Regions from separate parts of the Homo sapiens genome. Here region 2 is linked to region 1. Evidence: promoter capture Hi-C in 16 types of primary human blood cells and fetal thymus (Javierre and others, 2016). All regions are on one chromosome and are shown on one strand. Each heading gives the region's core, a stretch centred on a gene start or on the middle of the fragment in contact. The rest is flanking DNA. Distances are from core to core; before and after follow the strand shown.

Region 1 (7,577 bases), core at 3,614-6,113:
AAAAATGTCATCTCCACTAAGGAAAAAAAAAGGAAAATATTACAGGTATTAGAGGTTCAGAAGGAGAAAAGAAACTAGGGGAAAATATACATGTTATATGACTGTGTGTGTGTGTGTGTGTGTGTATGAATTTACATATACGTGTGTGTGTGTGTGTGTGTATACACATAAATTTTTTGAAAAACAATGAAGATAGGCCTCACTGTAGCTCCTTAACTTATACCTGGTAGCTTAACAGTTGAGCATACAGTGTCTAGAATAACACCTGCCCTCAAATCCTGGCTTTGCCACTTAGTAGTATATGACCTTGCATGAGCACCATACACTAATATTTGCCTAATAACAAAAGTGCTTAGGGGAGTATATAAGCCACATGTTTGCATGACTGTTTTTAGAAGCTTGAAAGAAACTGTCCCTAACTCCAAGGGAAAAGAAGCTAAGGAGATAGTTTGCTAAATTTTGCCACCCTGACAATAATAGCCTCAAAGATTCTAAGGATCAACCCAAATGCACATATGTCTAGTTGTTAAATAATAGGACACCTTTTGTGAAACAAAAGGTAAGACAGATATTGTTCTAGATTTCTTTACAGATGGAAGATGTAAGGTGAAGCATTTAATTGACTAACAGTATAATTTCATGTATCCAGTTGCCTTATACCTAGATCTCTGGTTTAATCCAGGCAATTTTGCCACTAGTTGGCACAAGAATGACCTCATTTGGACAGACAGGTTTCAACTTATTTCCTTAAAATTTTATGCAGAATGGAAAGGTATTAGGATATCAGTGATAGCTTCTGAATATGCCAGTGTCTCAAGCTCCCTTCTTATGCATAATATATCTCTAGAATTATCGATATTTGCTCCCAAACTAGTGTACCTAGATATAGTGTACTCAATACAAGTATATTAAGAAACCACCAATTTCAGTTTTAGCTCACTGACTCCACAATAAAATAAAAATCAACAATTCAAATTTTATTTATTCTGTTGGAGATTACACTATAAAAATATAATTCCCTCTGGAAGTATGATACAATTTTAAAAGCAGAAGGAAATAAATGTTTTTAAAATGTATTTTATGCAAATTTTCATGCTATATTTTTTCAATCAAGACTGAGAGAGTGTGTTTTAATAAAATATCTAAAACAAATGTAGGTATACACCATTTATTTGGGTAATCTTACAAATCTCTAACTTTGTAGAAGTAATATGGTGTTTATGGAATGTATGCACACACACACACACACACACACACACACACACACACACACACATCTCAGATTCCAGAGATTTAGATCCTAGCTAAAGCTCTGCCAAAAGTTCATTATATTGACCTTAGTCAAGCATAACTTGGTGATTAGAAGTCAAACCCGTGATTGGGTCTTGACTGTGACGTATAGTAGCTGTGTGGTCCTGGGAAAATCAACTGCTTTGAAATATGTTTTCTCATTTGTAAAATGGGAAATAATACTATACACTCTTTCATATAGATTTTGTGATGTTTAAATGTAATAAGATATATAAAGTTTTTAGCACAATGCCTGGCACTAAGTGCTTAATAAATATTAGTGTTTATTAATGCTAGTAAAGTACCTCACTTCTTTGGGCTTCAGATTCTTTACTTGTAAAATAAGGGGATTGGCTTATCACTATAAAATCTCTCCCAACTTAAACTCTACAACTTAAATGAGAAAACCCAATGTCATCCTCCCAGATAGAAATTGTAAAACAAGCCTTAAAAAACGCATGTCACACTCAGTTTTTTTCATATTTTATTTTGGGCTCTCTAAACTTAACAGCATATTTCTAAGCACCACATTCTATCCAGAGTTGCTTAAGTTTGATCAGTTTTCTCTATTGGTCTATGTGTAAATGTCTAGGAAAGTCTCAATTACTATGAAAGCTGGCTATAAGCTAAAACAGCTTTGAGGAGTTTCATATAATATAGGTAATCAGAGAAAAGGTCAAAGGATTTTCCCTTACAATGAATAACATTCATGGTTCACTTACAATTATCTACAATAATGATGTTCTAATTTACAGGTTAAAACACCCTTCAGACTGCTTTTAATCTATGTTTCTAAGTCAAAAACTTTTATGTGATATTGGGATGGTACCTCAAAGTGAGGCAGGAGCCAAAGTGAAATATGTGAAAAACCTCTGTATGAAACCATAATCACACTGTCATTCAAGTAAAACGAGCTCTGCAGAAGAATGCAATTTGAAGCCTGAAGGATAGGAAAGTGACAACCAATATATAATAGCAATTGTAACAACCATCACAAAGGTCATCTCTGATTCAAGAGATGTACACATGAAAACTATCAGGAATAATCAATATAAGATAGCAATTGTAGATAAAATGTAATAAAAAGTGAGTAATTTGTGTATTTTTAAAGATACATGATACAATGTCACCAAAGAGAAGTATAGAACAGTGGAATACCTCTTTATTTAGTATTTTTCAAACTGAGAAGATTACAGACAGAACCTCTTCTGGGATAGTGTTCCCTCCCTTGATCTTGTTTATGAGGACATGATATATTTGAAGGCCACCCAGTAAATAGAGATCTGTGTAATTTCTTTCCTCTGACTTAAATTCAGGTTTATTTAGTCATTGGAGGGTCTCTTGCCTGACCAACGATGAATAAGCTTTCACATGTATACAGTTCTCTCTATAAAAATACTGCTTCATTTCCCAGGAAATTGTTTTCTAGGGGAAAAAAAAAGAACATATATAGCTACAGCTATTTTGATTATTCAGTTAGGTGCTATGGGCAGATAATAAAGAAATGGATGTCATGGTCCCAACCCTTAAGGAAGGGTTTAAAATCCATTTGAGGATTCCAGTCTAACACACACACACACACACACACACACAACAACAACAACAACAACAATAACAAAGGAGACAATACAAAGCAGCCTACAAGCAACTAACAAAGACAATAATTGACGTGGGAATTCTAGGAAAAGTGAGGTCAGTAACACTTGCATTAGATTAATTTGGAAGGCACTTGTGGAGGGGTGGAATTTGAGTTGAGTTTCCAAAGTGGGTAAGATGTGAATTATGTAGAAGGAGGACATCCTACGTGGAGGGGACAGTAATGGTATAAGGAGCAAAGATATAAAGGTAGATTGTTCTCACTAACTGAACATTAAAGAGAGTTGTGCCCTGAAGAATAAAGGAAAATAAGGCTCCTGCATTACAATGAGGCCAGATTATGAAGTTCTTTAAAATTCGGGTGGAATTAGGCTTGAAACAATAGAAAATAAGGGGCCAAGAATATGTTGGTTAAAGAAAGTGATTTGTTGAAAGAAGTGTTCACAGACCACTAAGGATTTGGGGCACAGGTGAAGACTGCCTAGGAAGCTCCTACAGTGACTACATGGGTGCTGATGAGAATTTAGATTGTAAAGGAGGAACGTGTGAGAAGGCTTTCAAAGGAAAATTTACCAGTACTTGATAATCCCTTAACTATGAGAAATAGAGAAAAATCCAGATTCCTCTGTAAAATTGTCAGGAGTCTATGATCAGACTGTGGAGGGCAATTAATAACAATACTGTACAATCTATTCATCAATAATAGACAGGCAGGTTGTTCTTCATTGTTCCCCACAACTGCTGAGTAATAAAAGCCTTAATATAAGTAATATAACAGCCTTCCCAATGAAGGGGTGCGGGAAAGGGCTTCTCAAAATAATATTTGACTTCAGTGATTCTAGCAGAGACACAGAGGAAGAAGATGGACTCAGCACCAAACTTGATATGGAGACTAAATATTTATAAGAGATTGTCCCAAGAAGAGAAAAAGGCAAGAAAGGAAAATTTCTTACTCTGAGCCTCCACAATGGACTTCATTCTGAGTCTTTCCAAAGAATTTAAGGTTCAAAATCATTGTCACCTCAAATCAGAGCTCCTTTAAGATTAAAAGTTAGATTCATTTGAATAATTAGTGTTTATTTTTCCAAACAGTTTCTTATCTGATAAACTTCTATTTCACAAATTCTTCTAGAGTTCATTCCGTTATTCAACATCTAATATCTGGAAATTTAGAATGTGCCTTCTCAAATTTATAAGGCTCATTTTGAAGCTGGATTTACTCAGTAGGCCAGTTTAAACTAAATGGCAGATCTCTCCCCATCAACTGGTGCTTGAAACATCACAAGGCCTGGGATGTTCCCTGGGTCTCTACTTTCCAAATTCAGCACAGAAATGGCTCAGCCCCACCTCTTCCAGTGAAACCGAAACAGCGCCTGTGCAAACTCCACGCCTATTCTCCTCACAGTGACCCACCCCGCCCCCACCAAGGTGCTAATGCGCAGGCGCTACGCTCTCAGTGCCTTTGAGTAGGGCTGTGAGAAATCTACTGTCCAGTGAAATCTAGAAGTGGTAGAATTCAATCCCCTCCTTTCTTCGGAGGCAGAGGCGCCACTTCCTCCTACTACCCGTCCAGAAGCGCGTCCCAAACATCGCTCTCTCTCCGAGCAAGGTCCTTCGCTCTCTGGCAATCCCCATTGTATCCCTATCCGCAGCTCGTTTCTAATCTCACTCAGCCGCCAGCCTTCGCTAGGAGGATAGAGGCACTTGGCTCCCTAGGATCCGCACCAGTTTTTTGTCTGCCTGTTTAGGCCACGGAACCTATGGACCCCCCCACCCCCAACCTCGCCCCAAACTAGGAAAAGCATTATCCCGGTGCTTTGCCCTCCCTCCTTCGCCCTTCTCACCCACTTAGTGTTGAGTGCTTACCTCGGGTGTGGTGCGGTTACGAAAGGAATCAGCGGAACCCAGATCAGGCCGCTGCTGGGGCAGGCGGATTCAGCGAGATTTTTCCTGGGTCTCCAGTGCCGCTTCAGACAATGAAATCAGCGTGTCCGATCATCAATTCTCATCATGATCGTGACGTCACAAAAGACAGCGGCCAATGGGAGCCTGCGATCAGCTCAGGACAGTCCCTGGCCTCAGCCCAGAACCCAAGAGTTGGGAGGGGGGAAGAGAGATGGCTGCCTGCAACTGGACTGCCTCTTCCTCACACAAATCAGCTACATCTACGGCCAGGGCTCTCTATACCTTCCTGAATAGCTGTGAACACCGAGCATCCCTGTGACTATAGTAGTTACATGCCAGCCATTTGAGCAGGTGCTGCCTGGCCTTCCAACTTGACATTGGGTTTTAACAAAATTGTTACATGCTGCCAAAATCAAATGATAGCATAAGGAAATACAGTCCTTTGTGGTCAGTGTTCGATTGACAGGTAAATATTCAGTTTTACTAAAATCAATAAGGTGTCCATCGAGCCTTTAGAATTTTACAGTAAAAGCAAGTGTACTATTATACGTGACTGGTTGGCTCTGATGACTGAGGAAAGAAACTATGGTTTTTATTCATCCAACCTCAATTCCTATTCTGGCAGAAGCTTCTTGGGTGATCACCATTATACCATTCCAGAAAAGAAGTCAAGCCACATGTTACATCATTTAACAGTCACTTGATATACTTCCCAGATTTGCTGGATGCCATGAGAGATATAGAATTCATTGATTCTCTGCTATCATAGAACTTGCAACATCGTTTGGAAGACAAGATTAGCACACAGTAAATATTCACAACAATAAAATAAAGTACATGATCATGTGCTCAGTCATTAACTACAGACAAGAGCTACATTATTTAATTATTGGAGACATCAGTGAGGTGAAAAGTCAGGGAAGCATTTTATGTAATTAAAACTTGAGATGGTTCTTGAATGGTGGATAAGAGCAGATGGAAGTCACCGTCTTAAAGGGGAAAGATAGGCAAAGGTAGAGACGTATAAATTCATATGATGTGAGGAAGCCCATGATGAAATCAGCTTGACAAATAGAGGGCATATGCTGAGGACTAGTGGTAGATGGAATTGGCTAATAATAAAAGCCTTTGAAAATAGGCAGATAACTTTTATTTGATTAAAAGCCACCAAAAGCCATAAAGCATGTGACCTCAATCCTCTATAGTCAATTATCTACAGAGGAGTTTAGGTGATTTTTTAAAACAAAAGCCAGATTATGCTCAACTTCAGATTGTTCAATGGTTTCCTTTCACATATACAATAAAATGCAGATTTCTTACCATGTCCTCAAAGCCCTAAATGATCTGGCCTCCGCCATCTTTCTGACCTCACCTCCTGTCACTCAGCCACTAATTCACAAATATATTAATCTTCTATTTCTCAAACAAGTCAAGCTCATGTCCACAGCAGTGACCCTGTACTGTTGTACTGTCTGATCTTTATATGACTTACTCCATCACTTGATTGAAATCTTTGCTCAAATGCAACCTCTTTAAAGAGGTTTTCCTATTTAAAATTGTGATATCCTTAACACTCTCTATACCCTTTTTTCTGTTTCATTTTTCTTCATAGTATTTATTATTATTAAATGTATTTTATATATTTAGTTATTGCAAATGTAAGCTCTATGAAGGCAGGGATTTTTGTCTGTTTTGTTTATTATTATATCCCTCAAATCTAGAAAGCCTCTAAATACAAAGTAGACAAATAAGTAAGTACGTATTGAATGAATGACTGAAAGCACATTTTTCAAGTCATTAATTTGCATTTTCAGTAACATTGCGATAGGCTGGAGTGAGAGAGACCAGTTAGACAGTTGTAATGCTAACCCAGCTTCTAGGTGACACACCCCTAGATTAGGGTGTTAAAAATGATGAAATATGAGACTTTCAAAGAAGGAATTATATGGGTAAAGTGGAGGATTCAGAAAAAGCCTATTGATAATTGATTAACGTATTCATAAATTACGTTTATGAATTACCTGAAACTGAAGTGATATGAGAAAAAGGATCAGAGTCCCTACCCTTGAAGGGTTTATAATGCAAAGACACAAGAAGACTTGTATGAAATCACAGTACAAATAGAGGCAATTAAATTAATCCAATTTTTCCTTCCTCTTTTCCCCTCTCACTCTGTAGCTAAGCCACTAGTATGTTTGAAGACTGTACCTTCAAATTAGGCCCCAAATCTGAATACTCTGTACCTCCTCTATCACCGTTACACTAAAGTCACTGTAACTTCTAGTTTGAAATACTGCAAAAGCATCTTACATCGTTTATTTTCTTCCACTCTTGTCCTTCTTCAAAAGTTTCTCTTAACATCAGTCAAAATATTCTTTATAAAGTTTGAATCAGACCATATCACTACCTGATTTAAAGCCCTCCAAATGCATCTCATTACATTAACAATAAAGTCCCAAGTCCTTTCTATGGTGTATTTCCCACCATTTGTTCCTGCCCTGGCTCATTATGCTGTAGCTACTCTGGTCTTTTTGGTTATCTGTTTTCTCTCTGGAATGCCTATTTCCTCTTCAGAGACTTTGCATTTGCTATTATTTCTTGGGAAACTCTTTCCCCAGATCTTCACATAGCATACTTCACATAATTCAGGCTGTCTGCTAAAATGTTACCTTCTCAGATGGGACTTCATGGACCAATCAATTTAAAATAGCATTGCCCCACCACCACCACAATTATCTGTCTCCTGTATCTTCTTGCTGTGCTTAATTTTTCTCATATCACTATGG
Region 2 (7,577 bases), core at 1,319-3,818, 130 kb before region 1:
AACACAGTTTCTATCTCCAGTGAAAATGGCTTGTTAACTATATGAGGTGCAATATCAGGTTCTCAAAAGTAAGCCTCTTATGTGACTTTTTCTGGGAAAAAATTAATTTGACTGATGTATTTTTCAAATTGTGGTAAAATATACATAACATTTGCCATTATAAATGCTTTTCAACGTAACATTTGCCATTATAAACCCTTTTCAATCTACAGTTCAGTAGTGTTAAGTATAGTTACACTGTTGTGCCACCCATCTCTAGAACTTTTTCATATCCATTAAACCAGCAGTCCCCAACATTTTTGGCACCAGGGACCAGTTTCATGGAAGACAATTTTTTCCACGGATGAGGGTGGGGTTACCGGGGAGGAGGGTTTCAGGATGAAACTGTTTTACCTCACATCAGCAGGCATTAATTAGATTCTCATAAGGAGTGCACAACCTAGACCCCTTGCATGCACAGTTCACAATAGGGTTCCTGCTCCTATGATAATTGAGTGCCGCCACTGATCTGTCAGGAGGCAGAGCTCAGGCATTAATGCTCATTTGCCTGCTGCTCACCTCCTGCTGTGTGGACTCGTACCAGTCCATGGCTCATGGAGTGGGAACCCTTGCAATAAACTACCCATTTCCCCTCCCCAAACCCCACGCAATGACCATTCTATTAAACCTTCCTTAGCTTAACTACTCTAGATAGCTCATATAAATAAAATAATGAAATATTTGTGTTTATGTAACTGGCTAATTTCACTTAGCATAATGTCCTCAAAGTTTATCTATGTCACAGCATGTGTCAGAATTTCCTTCCTTTGTAAGAATGAATAATATTTCATTGTATGCATGTACCAAATTTTTGTTCATACATTCATTCATTGATGGATATTTAGATTGTTTCCATGTTTTGGCTGTTGTGAATAATGGTATGCATATAGGCATACAAATATCTTTTCAAAACCCTGTTTTTAATTCCTTGGAATATATACCCAGAAGTGGAATTGTTGGATCATAGGGTAATTCTATTTTTCATTTTTTGAGAAACCTCCATACTGTTTTCCCCAGCAGATATACCATCTCACATTCCCACTAACAGTGCATAGAGGTTTTAATTTCTCTATCTCCTCACTAACCCTTGCCATTTTCTGAACATGTGTGCGTGTTTTTGCACCTCTGTGTGTTTTTACAGTAGATATCCTAATTGGTGTGAGGTGAAATCTCATTGAGTCTTTGATTTGCATTTCCCTGTTGATTAGTGATGTTGAGCATCTTTCTATACGCTTGTTGGCTACTTGTACATCTTTTTTGGAGAAGTTCCCATTCAAGTCCTTTGCCCATTGTTTAAATGGGTTATTTGTTTTTGGTATTGAGTTGTAGGAGTTGTAAAAATATATTCCTGATATTAACATCCTTCAATAAGAAAGTTATCTTTTACATTCTAATAGTTTCTGATCCTTGACTTTCTGAAATGTATCTTTGTGGTAGTTAATTTAATGTGTCAATTTGACTGGGCTAAGGGGTGCCCAAGCATTTGGTCAAACATTATTCTGGGTGTGTTGTGAAGATGTTTCTGAATTAGATTAACATATAAATCAGTAGACTGAGTTAAGTAGATTGCCCTTCCTAATGTGAATGGGCCTCATCTATTTAATTGAAGACTGGAACTGAACAAAAAGCCTGAGTATGAAAGAATTCCTCTTGCCTGATTGTTGAGGTGGGACACTCGTGTTTTCTATCCTTTGGACTCAGACTGAAGCATCGGTTCTTCTTGGATCTTGAAGCTGCTGGATTTGGGACTGGAATTTACTGGACTTGGCTTTCCTCGTTCGCAGGCCTTTGGACTGAGACCAATACTACATATCATCTTTCCTTGGTCCCCAGCTTGCAGACTGAGGATTGTGAGACCTCTGCTTTCACAATAGTGGGAGACAATTCTTTATCTCCATCCAATCTATGAGTTCTGTTTCTCTGGAGATCGCTGCCTAATATAAACCACTTACCATCACAAAACTACTTGAAATTTATTCTTGAAAAGAACTTCGTTCAATCTTACAGAATAGGGGTCTGGGCAAGAGTTACCTTTTGGCTTTCAGTCTCTGGAGTTCTGGCATCCAAATCCCTGACCCACTCCTTTCCAAATATACCATATGTGAGAAAGTGCTGTCATTGTCAGTTTATTTATTTTAAAAAGATCAACAGTGAATTCTAGAGTTTCAACTGACATTGCTCGGCTAACATTTTACTTGTCTTACAAGCAGTGTCAATCACAATGCTCTGCTAGGGAAATGTCATACAAATAGAAAATTTCTACTGATAAGCAGAAGTGGAACAAGACCCCCTATTATCATAGCTAAGCTTAAAAGCATTGAATGAAGATAGCTACACTTCTTAAGGAATTCCCTTGAAAAATTAACTAATCCTCTTTGGACAGAATTGAATAAGTTATTTTTATTCTAAACCTAGCAGGAAGTATCTTTAATATGAAATAGAAGAATTGTTGGTAAGCCTCTGTATATAATTGCAAACTTGTCAAAAACAAAACAAAACAAAATATCACATGTAAGGTCCATCATTTCAACATATATGTACAACACTTCTATTCTCCAGCAACAAACATTTAAAGCCAGAAATAGCATAGGTTTTTATTATGTGGAGCACATCGTAAGGGCTTACAACTGGTAACAAATAGAAGCTGAAAATTTTCTCCTCAGTGCAAAACAGTGGGAATCCAGAAAATCCTGTATTTGAATCTCAGTTCTGTCTCTTCCTAGTTGTGAAAAAGTGACTTAATCTCTCTCTGAAGCTTATTTTCATTATGTTAAAATGGGCATAATTCTACCCACCTCAGAGGATTGCTAAAAAAGATTAAATGAGAAAACACATGTAAAATAAATCAGGTTCATATTCATAGCAACCTAGTAAACATGAGCCTTCTTCTGAAACCTACCCCACATACACACACCTGTATCCTAAATGGGAAGAAAAATACAGGTGCTATGAGGGGAGACTAACTTAACAGGAGAATCACAGGTACCTGAGAGAATAAACTGCTTTTTTAGAAAGAGCAGCAATAGCTGAGCATGCTTGGATTTTGCTCCAGCTTCTTTGTGAAGGGCATCTCGTGCTGGCTATTGTTTTGTTCTTTTAGATATTATACATTTCTGTATATTTAAAGCAGGGTGTCACAGCCCCCATGGAACACAGATGTCACTCACATGACAGCTAGCATGTGGAAAAGGTCTGATTTCCTGCCTTGCTGGTATCATCATATCACCATTCAAAGTATCTCAGGTTCACATTTGATGCTTATTGCCTATTTTTATGTGCTCTCTGAGGAGAATTATTCGTTAATGAAATTAAATGTGGGGGCCTAGTACCCTGCTGCGAAGTTCTAGAATTGAACAGCAATCTGCGGCAAGCTCCTGCAATATGGCATCTGGTTGGCTGCCCACTTTCACCATATCTACTGTTAACTTCCTACAGTGATTAGGCACCAGTTATATGTCTCCATTGTTTAGTGATGAGAAAATTGTGGAGAGTTTGGTTAAAAAATAAATCAAAATAGGAAATTTACAAGAAAATGTAATTTGAAAGAATTCTATTGTTGATACAATAAAATAAATCTGTAGATGTCTTCGAATGGCCAGATATAATAAGACAGAACAGCAGCTGTTGAGACAGAAAGAAGTGGGAGTCAAAGAATTATAGAAAAAGAGGGTAGTCATAGTAATAAACTAGGTAGTTCAGCACTAAGGAAAACTTGCATAATTTTCCTTGCATAGCTCTCACAATCTTAAGCCAACATCAGAAAGTGCTGTTACATTTTAAAATATTAAGTATTTTTTTGGCATCATGTACAGTCATCAGGTTACCCATATATATATTTTATATGCAACTTTAAGACATGATTAAAATAACTTTTTGCATAGCCTTAATTAAAAAGAAAAATCAGTGGTAAACCTTTCACTATACAGGATCATTTTGTCAGCTGGCCACTTCACATTATTGAGTATCTACTAGGCATGTGGTACATAAGCACACAGCAAGTTTACATTTGCTTTCACTAAAACTGATGTTTGACCAAGGATTCTGTAATATAAGTTTGAAACCTGCTAGAGTTTTGCATTTTAATTTTTTTCATTTAATCTCATTGCATTGTGTAAGTTCTTTTTTGTTCTTACAGTTTTAAAAAATATTTTAATCTTACAGATCTAAAGCACAACAAATAACTAAAAGCGAGAATTGTTCTTGTAAAATGTAAACTCCCAAAGGTTTATCATAGATATGACTTAGCTGTGTTCTTATCTGTGAATGGGAAAGCTTCTGCAATGTCTACAGAACAATTATTATCACAAAAATTCAGAACTTGATTTACAGTAGGTGAGAGACAAGGCAGTTTAAATTAATAAAATGTTTATATAGCAGAAAATTATCCTGCCATCTCCATCTCTACCCCTAAATCTCCTCAGGTGCTAAGAAATTATAATTACTTTGAAAATGTATATAAAATACTCATAGTTTTAAACTGATAGTGTTAAGATAATCCATGTGATTAAATTGTCTAAATATAGAAATATTTTATTTGCATTAAAATATGTCATTTTTAATAACTTGTGGGTTAATTCATAAAAGCTGATGTTTTCAGAATAGATTAAAACAAAACAACAAAACACATAGGTATTTTCCAAAGAATAAGACCTAGTTTAAGGAAAAGCCATGACATAGCAAACAGGATGTGCCTAACTTACTCATGTTTGAAAGAATGAAAAACAGAGCTATTTTGACGAGGAGCACTTTTGATAGGAAATGTTGCCCCAAATCGGCTTCTATCCATGTATGGAAACACAAGAATCTGTTAGGGAATGTGGGTAGGCAGACATTTGGTTCAGAGTCTTGGCACATTGAAAATTGTGGTAAAAGAATTCAGGTATTTAAAAAAAAGAGGGAATCCTCCCTAACTCATTTTATGAGGCCAGCATCATCCTGATACCAAAGCCTGGCAGAGACACAACCAAAAAAGAGAATTTTAGACCAATATCCTTGATGAATATTGATGCAAAAATCCTCAATAAAATACTGGCAAACCGAATCCAGCAGCTCATCAAAAAGCTTATCCACCATGATCAAGAGGGCTTCATCCCTGGGATGAAGGCTGGTTTAATATACGCAAATCAACAAATGTAATCCAGCATATAAACAGAACCAAAGACAAAAACCACATGATTATCTCAATAGATGCAGAAAAGGCCTTTGACAAAATTCAACAACTCTTCATGCTAAAAACTCTCAATAAATTAGGTATTAATGGGACTTATCTCAAAATAATAAGAGCTATTTATGACAAACCCACAGCCAATATCATACTGATTGTGCAAAAACTGGAAGCATTCCCTTTGAAAACTGGCACAAGACAGGGATGCCCTCTCTCACCACTCCTATTCAACATAGTGTTGGAAGTTCTGGCCAGGGCAATTAGGCAGAAGAAGGAAATAAAGGGTATTCAATTAGGAAAAGAGGAAGTCAAATTGTCCCTGTTTGCAGACGACATGATTGTATATCTAGAAAACCCCATTGTCTCAGCCCAAAATCTCCTTAAGCTGATAAGCAACTTCAGCAAAGTCTCAGGATACAAAATCAATGTACAAAAATCACAAGCATTCTTATACACCAATAATAGACAAACAGAGAGCCAAATCATGAGTGAACTCCCATTCACAATTGCTTAAAAGAGAATAAAATACTTAGGAATCAAACTTACAAGGGATGTGAAGGACCTCTTCAAGGAGAACTACAAACCATTGCTCAATGAAATAAAGGAGGATACAAACAAATGGAAGAACATTCCATGCTCATGGGTAGGAAGAATAAATATCGTGAAAATGGCCATACTGCCCAAGGTAATTTATAGATTCAATGCCATCCCCATCAAGCTACCAATGATCTTCTTCACAGAATTGGAAAAAACTACTTTAAAGTTCATATGGAACCAAAAAAGAGCCTGCATAGCCAAGACAATCCTAAGCCAAAAGAACAAAGCTATAGGCATCATGCTACCTGACTTCAAACTATACTACAAGTCTACAGTAACCAAAACAGCATGGGACTGGTACCAAAACAGAACAGAACAGAGCCCTTGGAAATAACGCCACATATCTACAACTATCTGATCTTTGACTAACCTGAGAAAAACAAGCAATGGGGAAAGGATTCCCTATTTAATAAATGGTGCTGGGAAAACTGGCTAGCCATATGTAGAAAGCTGAAACTGGATCCCTTCATTACACCTTATACAAAAACTAATTCAAGATGGATTAAAGACTTAAACGTTAGACCTAAAACCATAAAAACCCTAGAAGAAAACCTAGGCATTACCATTCAGGACATAGGCATGGGCAAGGACTTCATGTCTAAAACACCAAAAGCAATGGCAACAAAAGCCAAAATTGACAAATGGGATCTAATTAAACTAAAGAGCTTCTGCACAGCAAAAGAAACTACCATCAGAGTGAGCAGGCAACCTACAAAATGGGAGAAAATTTTCACAACCTACTCATCTGACAAAGGGCTAATATCCAGAATCTACAATGAACTCAAACAAATTTACAAGAAAAAAACAAACAACCCCATCAAAAAGTGGGCAAAGGATATGAACAGACACTTCTCAAAAGAAGACATTTATGCAGCCAAAAGACACATGAAAAAATGCTCACCATCACTGGCCATCAGAGAAATGCAAATCAAAATCACAATGAGATACCATCTCACACCAGTTAGAATGGCAATCATTAAAAAGTCAGGAAACAACAGGTGCTGTAGAGGATGTGGAGAAATAGGGACACTTTTACACTGCTGGTGGGACTGTAAACTAGTTCAACCATAGTGGAAGTCAGTGTGGCGATTCCTCAGGGATCTAGAACTAGAAATACCATTTGACCCAGCCATCCCATTACTGGGTATATACCCAAAGGATTATAAATCATGCTGCTATAAAGACACATGCACATGTATGTTTATTGCGGCATTATTCACAATAGCAAAGGCTTGGAACCAACCCAAATGTCCAAAACGATAGACTGGATTAAGAAAATGTGGCACATATACACCATGGAATACTATGCAGCCATGAAACATGATGAGTTCATGTCCTTTGTAGGGACGTGGATGAAATTGGAAATCATCATTCTCAGCAAACTATCACAAGGACAAAAAACCAAACACCGCATTTTCTCACTCATAGATGGGAATTGAACAATGATATCACATGGACACAGGAAGGGGAACATCAAACTCTGGGGACTGTTGTGGGGTGGGGGGAGTGGGGAGGGATAGCATTAGGAGATATACCTAATGCTAAATGACGAGTTAATGGGTGCAGCACACCAGCATGGCACATGTATACATATGTAGCTAACCTGCACATTGTGCACATGTACCCTAAAACTTAAAGTATAATAATAATAAAATAAAAAATACAAATTGAAAAGTGAAAAGTGTATTTGAATCACTTCAAACTTTTTCTTAAAGAAGAAAAACAATTTTTGGCTTAGAAGACAGAACAAGATGGCAGAATAGAAGGCTCGACTGAT

The links. The method cuts DNA at HindIII sites, captures the fragments that hold promoters and counts their contacts. A CHiCAGO score of 5 or more calls a contact.
Region 2: a fragment that was not itself captured here is called in contact with the fragment with the promoter of HDX in region 1 in 1 of 17 cell types (monocytes); the score reaches 8.8 in monocytes.

Annotation. Positions count from the first base shown.
Region 1 is chrX:84,497,590-84,505,166 of GRCh38, forward strand. HDX (highly divergent homeobox) reads right to left here and starts at 4,864. Exons shown (of 11, transcript NM_001177479.2): 1 at 4,753-4,864. RefSeq lists a silencer at 4,888-5,037. The HindIII fragment of the contact is 2,765 bases long and covers 2,653-5,417 here.
Region 2 is chrX:84,368,451-84,376,027 of GRCh38, forward strand. The region is part of intron 5 of HDX (highly divergent homeobox); the gene reads right to left. Among named protein-coding and RNA genes, the nearest start is that of HDX, 130 kb to the right of the region's middle. The HindIII fragment of the contact is 448 bases long and covers 2,345-2,792 here.